Regions from separate parts of the Homo sapiens genome. Here region 2 is linked to region 1. The links are contacts of gene promoters, found by promoter capture Hi-C in human tissues and cell types (Jung and others, 2019). All regions are on one chromosome and are shown on one strand. Each heading gives the region's core, a stretch centred on a gene start or on the middle of the fragment in contact. The rest is flanking DNA. Distances are from core to core; before and after follow the strand shown.

Evidence for each region. Contacts are between HindIII fragments. The study calls those that stand out against the background at their distance.
Region 2: a contact is called between a fragment that was not itself captured here and the fragment with the promoter of SESN3 in region 1, in 3 of the 25 tissues and cell types used here (bladder, dorsolateral prefrontal cortex and hippocampus).

The regions. Positions count from the first base shown.
Region 1 is chr11:95,226,828-95,232,451 of GRCh38, reverse strand. It overlaps SESN3 (sestrin 3), which reads left to right and starts at 1,250. Exons shown (of 10, transcript NM_144665.4): 1 at 1,250-1,669. The coding sequence starts at 1,592. It overlaps LOC100129203 (a long non-coding RNA gene), which reads right to left and starts at 2,266. Exons shown (of 6, transcript NR_110295.2): 1 at 1,957-2,266; 2 at 879-1,327; 3 at 276-400. RefSeq lists enhancers at 1-231, 232-871 and silencers at 1,227-1,376, 1,387-1,696. The HindIII fragment of the contact is 13,238 bases long and covers 1-3,854 here.
Region 2 is chr11:95,332,142-95,337,765 of GRCh38, reverse strand. No RefSeq gene overlaps it. Among named protein-coding and RNA genes, the nearest start is that of SESN3, 100 kb to the right of the region's middle. RefSeq lists enhancers at 1-3, 1-1,164. The HindIII fragment of the contact is 6,191 bases long and covers 1-5,493 here.

The DNA of each region.
Region 1 (5,624 bases), core at 1-2,500:
TAGGCGATGCAAGTTATCTCTGGGGCCCGGAGGACACGAGTGAGGACCGGGCACCAATCAGGTTCTCGCTCTGCGCCGGCCTTTGTTCTCACTCGGGAGCAGGTTGCGGGCGTCTAGCATCGGGAACCCGCATTCGACTCGGACGCGCATTGCTAGCCCCTTCGGGAGACCTGGCTCCCCTACCCGTCTGTCCCGCCACACTCGGTCAGCCTGCGCTTTCCCCAGTCAAGTCTGCCTTCTCTCCGCAGAACGTGGACGCTAAAACCCTGACTTACCATTTTAAGCTTTAGAAGAGGTAGGTTTGTCCCAATAGTTTTAAACGACAATTTGTTCTCTGAACCTTCCTTTCTGAGCAGGGCGCTGTGCTCTGCATGTATCCGAACAGCTGCCTCAGGAAGGTCTTTTGGGTGAGAAAACAAGCCCCTTTGGCCTTTTAGTGCTGGACAAGTAAATGAACTTACATCTCTAAGATAACTGCTAGAAGGTGCTTCACAAACAAGAGGAAACCGCTAAACCAGAGGTTTTGTGTCTCTCCCCTCAAACTCGATTACTTGCGTAAATATATATATAACTCAGACATTTATCCCCTATCCGCCTCCCAAGCCTCAAGTAACTGAAATCTTTGCAAAACAAGGTTCACAATAAATGATGCGTAAAGTTCTTTGAGATCCCTGGATACAAAGTACTACATAACTGCAGTCTTCTTTACAGCTAAAGTTAGATTTTGGTGGAGAGAAAGCCTAACCACTGCCCTGAAGGAAGGAACATTTAATCCTCCCACTCCCCTCCCCCTTTCTCGAGAGATCAGGAAATATTTAGCTCAATCTTAGACTCTCTAGCGAGCTCTAGCTCCCAACTATTTATCTCATTCTCCTCACCACTTCTGCAGGGACCTAGAGAAGGGGGCGTAGCTTATCTTGGGGGTGGGGCTTGGAGGGCAGTATATTTGCATATGACACACCCTCGTCCTCTTATTGGCAGAGGAGAGCAAACTGTTCCCTGCTACCCTACTACTTAGCTAACCGCCACCTCCCTTCAGTTCCGAGCCTCGGAGATAAACTTAACTTGCCCGGAGATTCAAGGCTTCCTCGGCCCCTGCGATTGGCCGGCGCGACTCCCAGTCGGGCTCTCGTTGCTCATTGGCTGCGGGCTAGCGCCCTGGGGGCGTAGCCGGAGCTGTCCGATTGGCGGGAGGGGCGGTACCGGAGCGTGGAGGTGGTGAAGGTGGTGGGGCGGCGGAGGCGGGGCCGCACTGAGGCGCTGCGGCGGCGGTGGTGGCGGTGGCAGCGGTGGCGGCTGCTCGTCCTAGCCTGGCGGGGGCGGGGGTCTGGAAGATGGGGGCGGGTGGAACAACGGGCCGGTGAGGAGCAGCCGCCGCCGTCTCCGCCGTCGCTGGGGCAGCTGCCGCGGTGGTCGCCTCTGGCAGTGCCGCTAGCTTTCAGGCAGTCGCCTCTCCTCCCGACATCCCGCCTTGAGGAGGCTGAGGCGGAATCGCGGCTGGCGGCGGGGGGACGGACCGGCCCTGCAGTGGCCGCAGTGACAGCCCGGACCCGGCCCTCCGCCCGCTCTCGCCTCGGCGCCCGCAGCCACGATGAACCGGGGCGGCGGCAGCCCGTCGGCCGCCGCCAACTACCTGCTCTGTACCAACTGCCGGAAAGTGCTGCGGAAGGTACGGGTTCGGCCCGGGGTCCTGCCGGCGAGGGTCGCTTCCTGCCGGCCGGGGCTCGGGCGGCTCGTCCCCGGGCGCGCACTGGGGGAGGCTGAGAGGGATCCCCGGGCACCGTCCCTCCGCAGGGACTGAGAAAGGGGGCGTGGGTTGAGGGCAGGAGGGTTTGGACTACTGCGGCTTTTTATTTCCGCCGGGACAGACCCAAGTCTGGAGGGGTTGGGATATTTTTTCTTCCCTTGTTCCTTTTATTTGGTGCCTTTGCTCTCCTTTACGGCTCATTTCCCTACCTTGCTACCCCGGGTCGGCTCCTTGGGCGGAGGGCGGGAGGGATCCGTTCGATCCTCCTCCCTGTGCAGTTTAGCTGTTGATGGAGGTCGGTGTGAAATCAGAGCAGCTGGGTCGGATCCCGAGGAACCTGGCCCCTCTTTGCTGTGGCTAACTCTTGCGAGTGTTGTTTTTGTTTATTCGGTTGCTTCTGCCTTGCGCGCCTTGCTCAACAACCCCCGTTTTCAAATTGTTTGGATGGTAGTCCTGTGTCTGTAGTTCAGTCTCGAAAGGAACCAGTAAAGCATCTTGAACTTTATGCCCATGGGAAATGCAATTCGACCTGGCCAGTTCCTGAGGCTGGGGTTGGGGGAGGAGAAGACTGAGGTGGATGTGGGTTATTCCTCCTTAGCACCCCCCTGCCCCCGTGTTGATCCAGAAAAATGAGGCGCACCATCAGTTTATTGCTGCTTCCTAGAGTGACTGATAGAAAGTTTACTCCAGTATTGTTTAGCTTACTTGGCTTAATCGCCCCGCGGGGAAGGGCGAGAGGGATGGGGAAGGGAATGAAAAAAAGGTCTCTAGACTTTTTGATCAGATTTTAACAGCTGCCCCAAAGTAATATTATAATCAGTTTATTCGTATTCAAACTCTATTTTTACATTTTATTAAGTGGAAACGTTAGGTGAGATGCTTCTGTTTGTTCACTACAAATGAATTAAAATTGCTGAGCTGTGCAAATGCATCGGGACTGAAAGCGGAGATGAATATGGTACCGTTTTTAGTCAACATCTCTAAATACGGTTCACTTTGGGATTGTTCTTTCTACATTTTTTTTTAAAAAAGGAAGAAAGAAAAAAGCACATAAGTAAGCAAGCTCAAATATTTGCGCTCTTTGTCCAAAAACTGTTTTTCTTCCTCTGTGGGTCAGGCCAAGTGCCAATCAAAGTTGTTTTTCAAGCCTCTTTTCCCTGCAGTAGGGCTGCTGCTTTTTTTTTTCTTCCTATTTTATTTGAGAGCGTGAGAGCAAAGGGATTGCAGATTTGAGGTTAATTGAACAGTTAAATATGCCTTAAATTGTGTTTATTGGATATGTTTCTCTTGAAACAGATTTTTATTAAATGTGCATGTTGAGTATGTGCAGTTATTTTTTTCCATAAACTCTAGGATCAAATTACAGTTGATACTTGCTCAGCTCATTGTAGGGTAGCTTGTGAGAAATGTAATGGATCAGAAGTGCAGATCAGCTTAGTTGGATGTTAACTCTTTCACTGCAGGGCCAGATGTCATCTGAACTTAGCTTTCAAAAAAATTTATTTCTTAATTTTTAAATTTATGTTATGTCTTTGACATGAAAAAATGTGTCATTTAAGACATGTTTGATTAAAGTGCAGCCTGGTTAAAATGACAGCAAGTTATGCTTTTTAATTGAATAAGGAAAAAGAGCACTGTATTGACTTTGATAAAAAAATTTTTTAATGGCTCTGGCAATTTGTTAGGCTAATAAAATGTTTGGAGGTAATATTAGGCTTCAAAATGTATTTCATTTTTCTTTTGAGAGAGCTATGGCTATGGATCCATGACACTTTGCTAGCATTTAAGATATTACATCTTTCCTTTAGCTTTTAGGAAACTATTTCTGTTTACCTAGAAAGAACATCCTCATTTCTAGCCATTATTAAAAGAAACGTGGAAAAAGAGTATTCACATTTTCGTATTTTATAATTGCTGAGCACATCTCTGCCAGTATTCCAGTTTTTAGTAACTCCAAGGTATTTAATATTGATTCATGCAGTGGCATGAAATAACTTAATGGAAATAGGATTCTTTGAGCCAGTTATAACATGACTTGGCAACATTTGCAGCTTTTTAAAGAGTGCCACTTTGAAGTGCTCTTAAGAGAATCAGTATGTAGCATTTTAAATGTTTCATCATTCTTAAAATAACAATGAAAAGTTTATTTCTAATAAAGACATGTTTTTCTTGTTGATATAACTCTAAGTTAAAAGTCATCTATAACTCTCAAAATGTGATTCTTAGAGTTTATCTTGTTTTCCATTTAATAAAGTGTTCAGTAATGTAGCCAAGTGAGTCATAGTATTTTGAATGTTTGTTCAGTCTAATTCATAATGGAAGAATGAAACTCATGCTCATCCAGTGTGAATTACTTTTGCTTTTATATTTCTATATAATGATGGAAGAAGGGTCACCTTTATATGGGACAGAAAGTGTTATTCTCTCAGTAGGTGGCTTAATTTGTTGCAGTGTGTTGAATTTTAGGGGAACTTCACAAGGAATGGAATTCACCTTCAAATGAAATAATATGGTTTAACCCAATGCCTGAATATTGAATTATATATTGTATGAGAATTACATTTATTCTTAGAAGTCCGTTTACGGTTTTGATTTAGTATCCTCCAAAATAAAGAGACTTATTAAAATATTGAATGTACCTAATTTGGTAACCTTAGGACAGTAAAAAGAATGGAGAGGTAAACCATATCCATAAATAAATTAACCATCAAAACTATCCTGAAATCCCTAACTCTTAAGTCTAACTTGCTCTATTGTCAATGAGGTAGTTCAGTAAAGTTTTTAATAAAAGAGGAAATGCTTCTATTTATTTTGTAAAGTTAACGAGTTTTTAAGTTTAATCTTTTACTTGAAGAAATTCTAGTGATAACTAGAAGAACATAATCCTTTAATTTGAAAAGTCATGTGTCAAACTGCATTGAGGAAGGTAGGTAATTATCAGTCCACTCATCTTCCAGTAAATAAAAAAGTGGCATATTCCAATGTACTTTGGGTATTGAGCAGTTAGTGCTACTTAAATGAATAGTTTTGTGCTCTTTAGAGGATCTAACATTTAAACTTTTTTAATGTTAAGATAGTTATAGTGATATATCTTTGTATTGTTATTGCACTTTTCACTTTGTTATATGATCATATATTTTGACATCTTTTTGATGGTTTTATAAACAAAGATACTGTCAAAATGAAAAATACTAGATTGAGGACCGGGCATGGTGGCTTACGCCTGTAATCCCAGCACTTTGGGAGGCCAAGGTGGGCAGATCACGAGGTCAAAAGATCGAGACCATCCTGGCCAACATGGTGAAACCCCATATCTACTAAAAATACAAAAATTAGCTGGGCGTGGAATCGTGTGCCTGTAGTCCCAGTTACTCAGGAGGCTGAGGCAGGAGAATCACTTGAACCTGGGAGGCGGAGGTTGTGGTGAGCCAAGGTTGTGGTGAGCCAAGGTCACGCCACTGCACTGCAGCCTGAGCAACAAGAGCAAAACTCTGTCTCAAAAAAAAAGACAAAAAAAAAAAAGAAAAATACTAGATTGAACTATATGAGCCTCATTTTTATAGTCAAAATTGTTAAGTAATAGCAACTTTATATGGTTTAGCCAATAAAATGTATTTGCTCTATCTGTGGACCACTAGTTACATTATGCCTTGGTTAATCAGTTTTCTTGTGTTACATATTTTTGATTGTCAAAGGCAGTTTTTAACTTGATTATCTTAAATATCCTAAGCAGAGATCAAGTAGTTAATTAGTGATGGCAAACCTTTATGCAATGGTTTTCAAACTGCTTCGTATGGACCCTTAAGATTCTTTGGGGTTTTAAAATGCTTGAGTTGCATTAAATTTTTAAGTATGTTTTAACTTATTTTAAAACTGT
Region 2 (5,624 bases), core at 1,149-3,648, 100 kb before region 1:
ACACAGATGTCACTCCGGGGAGGCAGCCTGCCCGCCCTGGGCTTTAGGCCGTTCTGGAACTGAAAGGGGGTTGGAAACCATCTGGCAGGATACGAAAGAGAAAGCCCGTGGCGAGCAGCCACCGGAGCCTTGCTTTCCTGGGCTGGCCTTCCTAAGCTCCCCACAAGCAAGGACTTGTTTTCTGCTAAGCTCTCAGGGAGTCTAAGAAGGGGTTTACGTGAGAGAGTGTGTGTGTGTGTGTGTGTGTGTGTGTGTGTTTGTGTGTGTGTGTGTGTGTGTTCTACAGCCTAAAGAGAAACTGCACATAGGGGAAGCATGTGAGGTAAAGAGGCCAGAGAAAAGATTCAAAGAGAACAAGCAAGAGAGCCGGTTGGGGCAGGTCTCCAGAGCCGCTATTATTTTTTTCTGGTTGATTATCACAGTGCTTGAAAATGAAGAATAATTTCAGAGGTTGGTGGGGAGGAGGGGCCTGGCTTCTTGGAAGCCTTATTAACACCAGGCGAACAAGACTGTAATTAATCATCAGGGTGAACTTGAGCCACTGGGATGAACGCTAACCCGTTAACCAGCTCTGCCTGGTATTTTTATTTCAGCAAGATCTGAAACTTTAAGGATGTCCTTCTGAACACGATTCCCACCACCACTGCCCTCGGTAACTCAAATGAAGCTTCTGGAGTGAAGCCTTGCAACTGTACTGTCATGTTTTCAACTTTATAATTTTATTCTAGTGACTTCTAGATCTTAACTTTGACTTATCCACTGTGGTAAAGACAAATTGAAAGAATTTGAAACATCAGACAACTTAGATTATGATTTTTACGTATACCAGAATAAGCATTATTTTTTTTTTCTTCCTACTGCTATACCTTTCTTCTTATTGGGCTAGGGTTAATAGAAACAATTCTTATGAAAAGGAAATCTATTATTTTAAAATATATGCGATTTCAGACATTGTCTGAGATGAAGGTTACCTTCATGCTATCTGTGAAGAAAAGTTTGCTAAGTAAATGAGGACAATAAACAAAATCTCAGCCCAAATTTTTTACCTTACTTGAAGAAACATATTGTAAGAACCATAGCAGCATCCATTTACATGTAAACATTTTTATACTACTTACAAATTATTGTCATCTTTCCTTAAAAGCTGACCCTCAAAGAACCTCTAGTTGGTAACGTGCTTCTAGCTTCATTTTCATCACCCTACATATTGGAAATTCATGAAAATGCTTTTCTTCGCAAGCATTCCCCCAAAGCTAATTTGAATTAATGATGTTGGTGTAGTTAGAGTTTGTTTATGGTCTGGTACTGCTAAATTCATGATTGACTATATTACCTGAAAAAAATGGGGTTCATTTGCCTGGCAAGTAACAACTCTCCACGAGAACACAGGTTTTTTCTCAATAAGCATTTTATTATTTGTCACAAAAAAGAAGAGCACTGGTGTGTTCTCCAAGGCAGTGTCTCCCTGAGGGAAAGTGACAGGAGGGTTTTACGGGGCAATGGAGAGTAGAGAGGAAGTGTCAGCGCATGTAGAGGAAGGGTCCCACCAGTGGTGCAGATGCAATGAGTCATCACACCAGCACATAGGTCACATGTTATGGTAATGAGGCTATAGCTCCCCTGAGGGGGTTGGTGGGGGGGTGGACTCTAGCATAGTAATGAGGAAAGTTCACTCAGGTTCATTTATAATTTGCCAGGGTCTGTCAGGAGCTGGTGTCAACCAACTGGGTGACCACATTCCACATAGGGTTTGGGACAAAACAGGCTTCAAGACAAGATGCTGTAAAACAGGCTGATTGCTCAAGTTGATTAAATTCCTATAGTCCCTGGAGATCCTCCCTGTCTGCTTACAGATAGATGGATGGGTGAATCTTCAATAGAGTCCACCAGACTTATGTCTTTATTTCCTTAAAACATGGGCCTCTGGGTCTCAGGGGACGCCCTGGGAAGTAGAAAGGATGTCCATTCCTCTCAAGAAGTCTTCACTGGCAGGGCGTGGTGGCTCACACCTGTAATCACAGCACTTCAGGAGGCCCAGGTGGGCAAATTACTTGAGGCCAGGAATTTGAGACCAGCCTGGCCAACATGGTGAAATTCTGTCTCTACTAAAAATACAAAAATTAGCCAGGCGTGGTGGCATGCACCTCTAGTCCCAGCTACTCGGGAGGCTGAGGGAGGAGAATCACTTGAACCTAGGAGGCAGAGGTTGCAGAGAGCCAAGATTGTGCCACTACACTCCAGCCTGGGCGACAGAGCAAGACTCCATCTCAAAAAAAACAAAAAGTCTTCACCATCCAAGACACACTTCCACCTATGACTGAAGACCATAGCTCACCAGCTTCGGGCCTGCTTCAGGGTCCTGAGCTGCCTCTTGTTCATCCTGCCACTTGTGCCTACCTTGGCTGTTTGGTCACTTGGTTTGGCAGCTTGACCATTTTCCACAGCCCTCGGTAAGTAGTGCTCCCCACTTGCTCCCACCAGCGGAAGCCTATTTCCCCTCCCCTCCCCAAGGCCAAATTGCCAGAGAGAGGGAGCAAGATTGGACAGCCCACTCACAAGCTCTCTCGGGGACACCTCATTCCATATAGGTAAACTCCTACTAGCTGCTGGTCTCAATTCTAGATAGCTGTGGACCCCAAAGGATGTAATTAATGCTATCAAAGAAGACACAGTGCTCTGCTACTTGGCTGTGAAAACTTCTCCTCCAAAGTGGAAGGTTTGACGATTTCCACAATAAAAATCTCCCCATGTTCTCCATCCCATTTTTCCCTTCAAAATATTAACATTTTTTGAATTTAGTCAACAAAGTCTACTTTTTCCTTCGACTTTTAAATGGACCCAAACATTTTCCATTAATCTAATTCTGTCTTTAATTGAATACCTCCCCACATTTTCCAGTTTCTTTTTAAAGCATTTTTTATATTCTATTTACAATATCAGAAGATAAAAATTAAGTATCCATAATGAAATCACTGTTTTTGTATACAAAATATGAAGTAAGTACAACAAAAATTATATTTGGGGGTATAAAATATGAAAGGAAGCCCCTGCCCTCACCATGACTCCTGGCAACTTCTTGGATCAGCTCCGATAAAAGTTTAGTGCCTTTCCTTCCAGACTGTTTCTGGGCTTACACAAACATGAACAAATGTTTTCAAACCAATTATCAAAGTTTCTTTGATTTCTCTTTCCCTCTTACCACATGTTATGGGCTGAATTATATCCCCTTGAAATTCATATGTTGAAGTCCTAAACTCCAGTTACCTCAGAATATTATGATATTTGACAATAAGGTCTTAAAGAGATACTTAGGTTACAATGAGGTCATTAGATTGGGCCCTAATCCAATATGATATGTGTCTTTATAAGAAGGATGAGAAAGAGGAAATCTGAACACGGACATGTGCACTCATAGCAGGAAGACCATGCAAAGACACCAGAGTAAGATGGCCATCTAGAAGCCAAGGAGACAGGCCTTAGAAGAGACCAACCCTGCCAACACCTTAATCTTAGACTTCTAGTTTCCAGAAATGTGACAAAATAAATTTCTGTTGTTTAAGCCACCCCATCTGTGGTACTTTGTTATGGCAGCCCTAGCTGACTAATATACGAACCACCAGGAAATTCTAGTGCCTATTCCTCCAACACCATCTTAAATCCATTCCATTTACTTCTTTCCATCTTCACCACCATACTCAATCCAAGCCATCATCATTTCTCACTGGTTGACAGTGAAAACCCCCGCACCAAGCAGTCTCTTCACTGTCGACTGCAAGCAAACAATAGATACCAACTCCAGTAAGCAGAAAAAGGATTATTGGAAATCTATTGAGAAGTTCACAGAATTGATGAGAAAGCACTAAAACTAGCCTCAGAGATAGGCAAGTAGATCAGGTTACTCCTGTTTTTAAACCTTCCAATGGCTTCCCATCACCCTTAGAATATAGTTCTAACCACATGCCCTGGGATGCCAGATGCCCTGTGGCAGATCTCCAGAGATGGAAACCCATCACCAGAGAGTCAAACAGAATCAATATAAAAGTTAAGCTCATCATGCCTTTGTTGTCATCAATGCTGACAGAGCCCAAGAACTGAAATGCCCTTCACACATGGCTCTTCATGTGCGTGGAGGTTCAGATGTCTGCATGTGGGCCCTGCTGCTTCTGAATGACTTAGTTAAAAGCATTTTAAAGCTCCAACTTAATTAGCTAATTTAAATCCTGTTCAGTTTATCGTCTGTGTACAATGTTCTCTGCACAGGTCCAGAAACTAATGACCATCTTCAACATAATCACTAACATTTGCTTAGTGGTTCACAGTTTACAAAGTGCTTTCACTTACTTTAAACCCTCGGATTCTCAAAATGCTCCTGTGAATAGGTGGGATAGGCATTATTACCTCATTTTAACAGGTGAGAAAACTCAGACTCAGAGGTCAAGTGCACTTTTCAAGCACACCAGGGATAAGGAAGGGGGAAGCTTGGATTAAAACCTACCACTTTTAAACTCTAAATGTCACTTATAATCACCTAATTCACCAGGCATTTTAAATAACCGAGGTTTTGCTGGCAAAAGTGAGGGGGTAAAACAAACAAAGGCCACGGGATCCTAATTCAGAAGCAGGTAGGGGATAAAATGAAGACAGCTGGGTTTTGCCATAGACATGGGAATATCCAGCTCCTGGGTATATGCCCCGCCAGGTTCTAGGGCCTAGAGCAAACCATACACTGAGCACTGCACCCCCCCTTACTAATAGCCAGTCATACATACCACCATGGAAATGGTGAGAGGAGTAAATGAAAATGGAAATCAGGAACCACCTAAAAGAGGAAAATTAAGAAAAAGGAGGCCAGCCCACAAGGTGAGGCAAGAGGCACTGGTAATTGTTTAAAAGCTGATGTTTATGAAACTTTTATCTGCCTGGCTGGAACCTTACCTAAGTATCTCTCCAGCTTCCACCTAGAGACAGTCACTGCAAGTGGTCATGGAGATGAGAAGGAGAAATTAGGAAGAGCAAGAGCAAAAAATTAGGCCGACCTGGGGCTATCCCCTTGATTACCAAGACACCAGGGAGTTGCTGCACTAGGTACAATCTTACTGCCTGGAGAATTTTTTTTTTTTTTTTTTTTTTTGCAAATCAGAAACAAGAGAAGTCACAGCTCCTGCACCCTTTAGTCTATCAGAAAGTAAATCTCCTGGTTGAGGCACCTTCTCTTCAGTGTTGGATTTCCCCCAAGGTGACAGCCCACAGACCCTTGCTTCAGGGGCATGGCCTACGGCACCCCAACTGCTCTCCTGACCTAACCCTACATGCTCCCACTGCATGTGCCAGGTCTGGTCTCAGACAAGAATCCAAAGTGGCTCATGACCAAATGCAAATCACCAAGTACAATACCTCTTTGTAGTTTCTTCACACCTTTCATCCCAGAGTTTCAAAGCACAGTGCAAATGTTAACTTGTCCTCAGACACCCCAGGAGAGGCAGGTAGGTGGCACATGCTATTATCATCTCCCGTTTATAGAAACAAACCAGACTTTGAGCCATGAACTCTCTTGCTTGACGCCTCATGGTGAATAATTGTATGTCCTGGGGACCTATATCTAGTCATTAACTATATCATGTTAC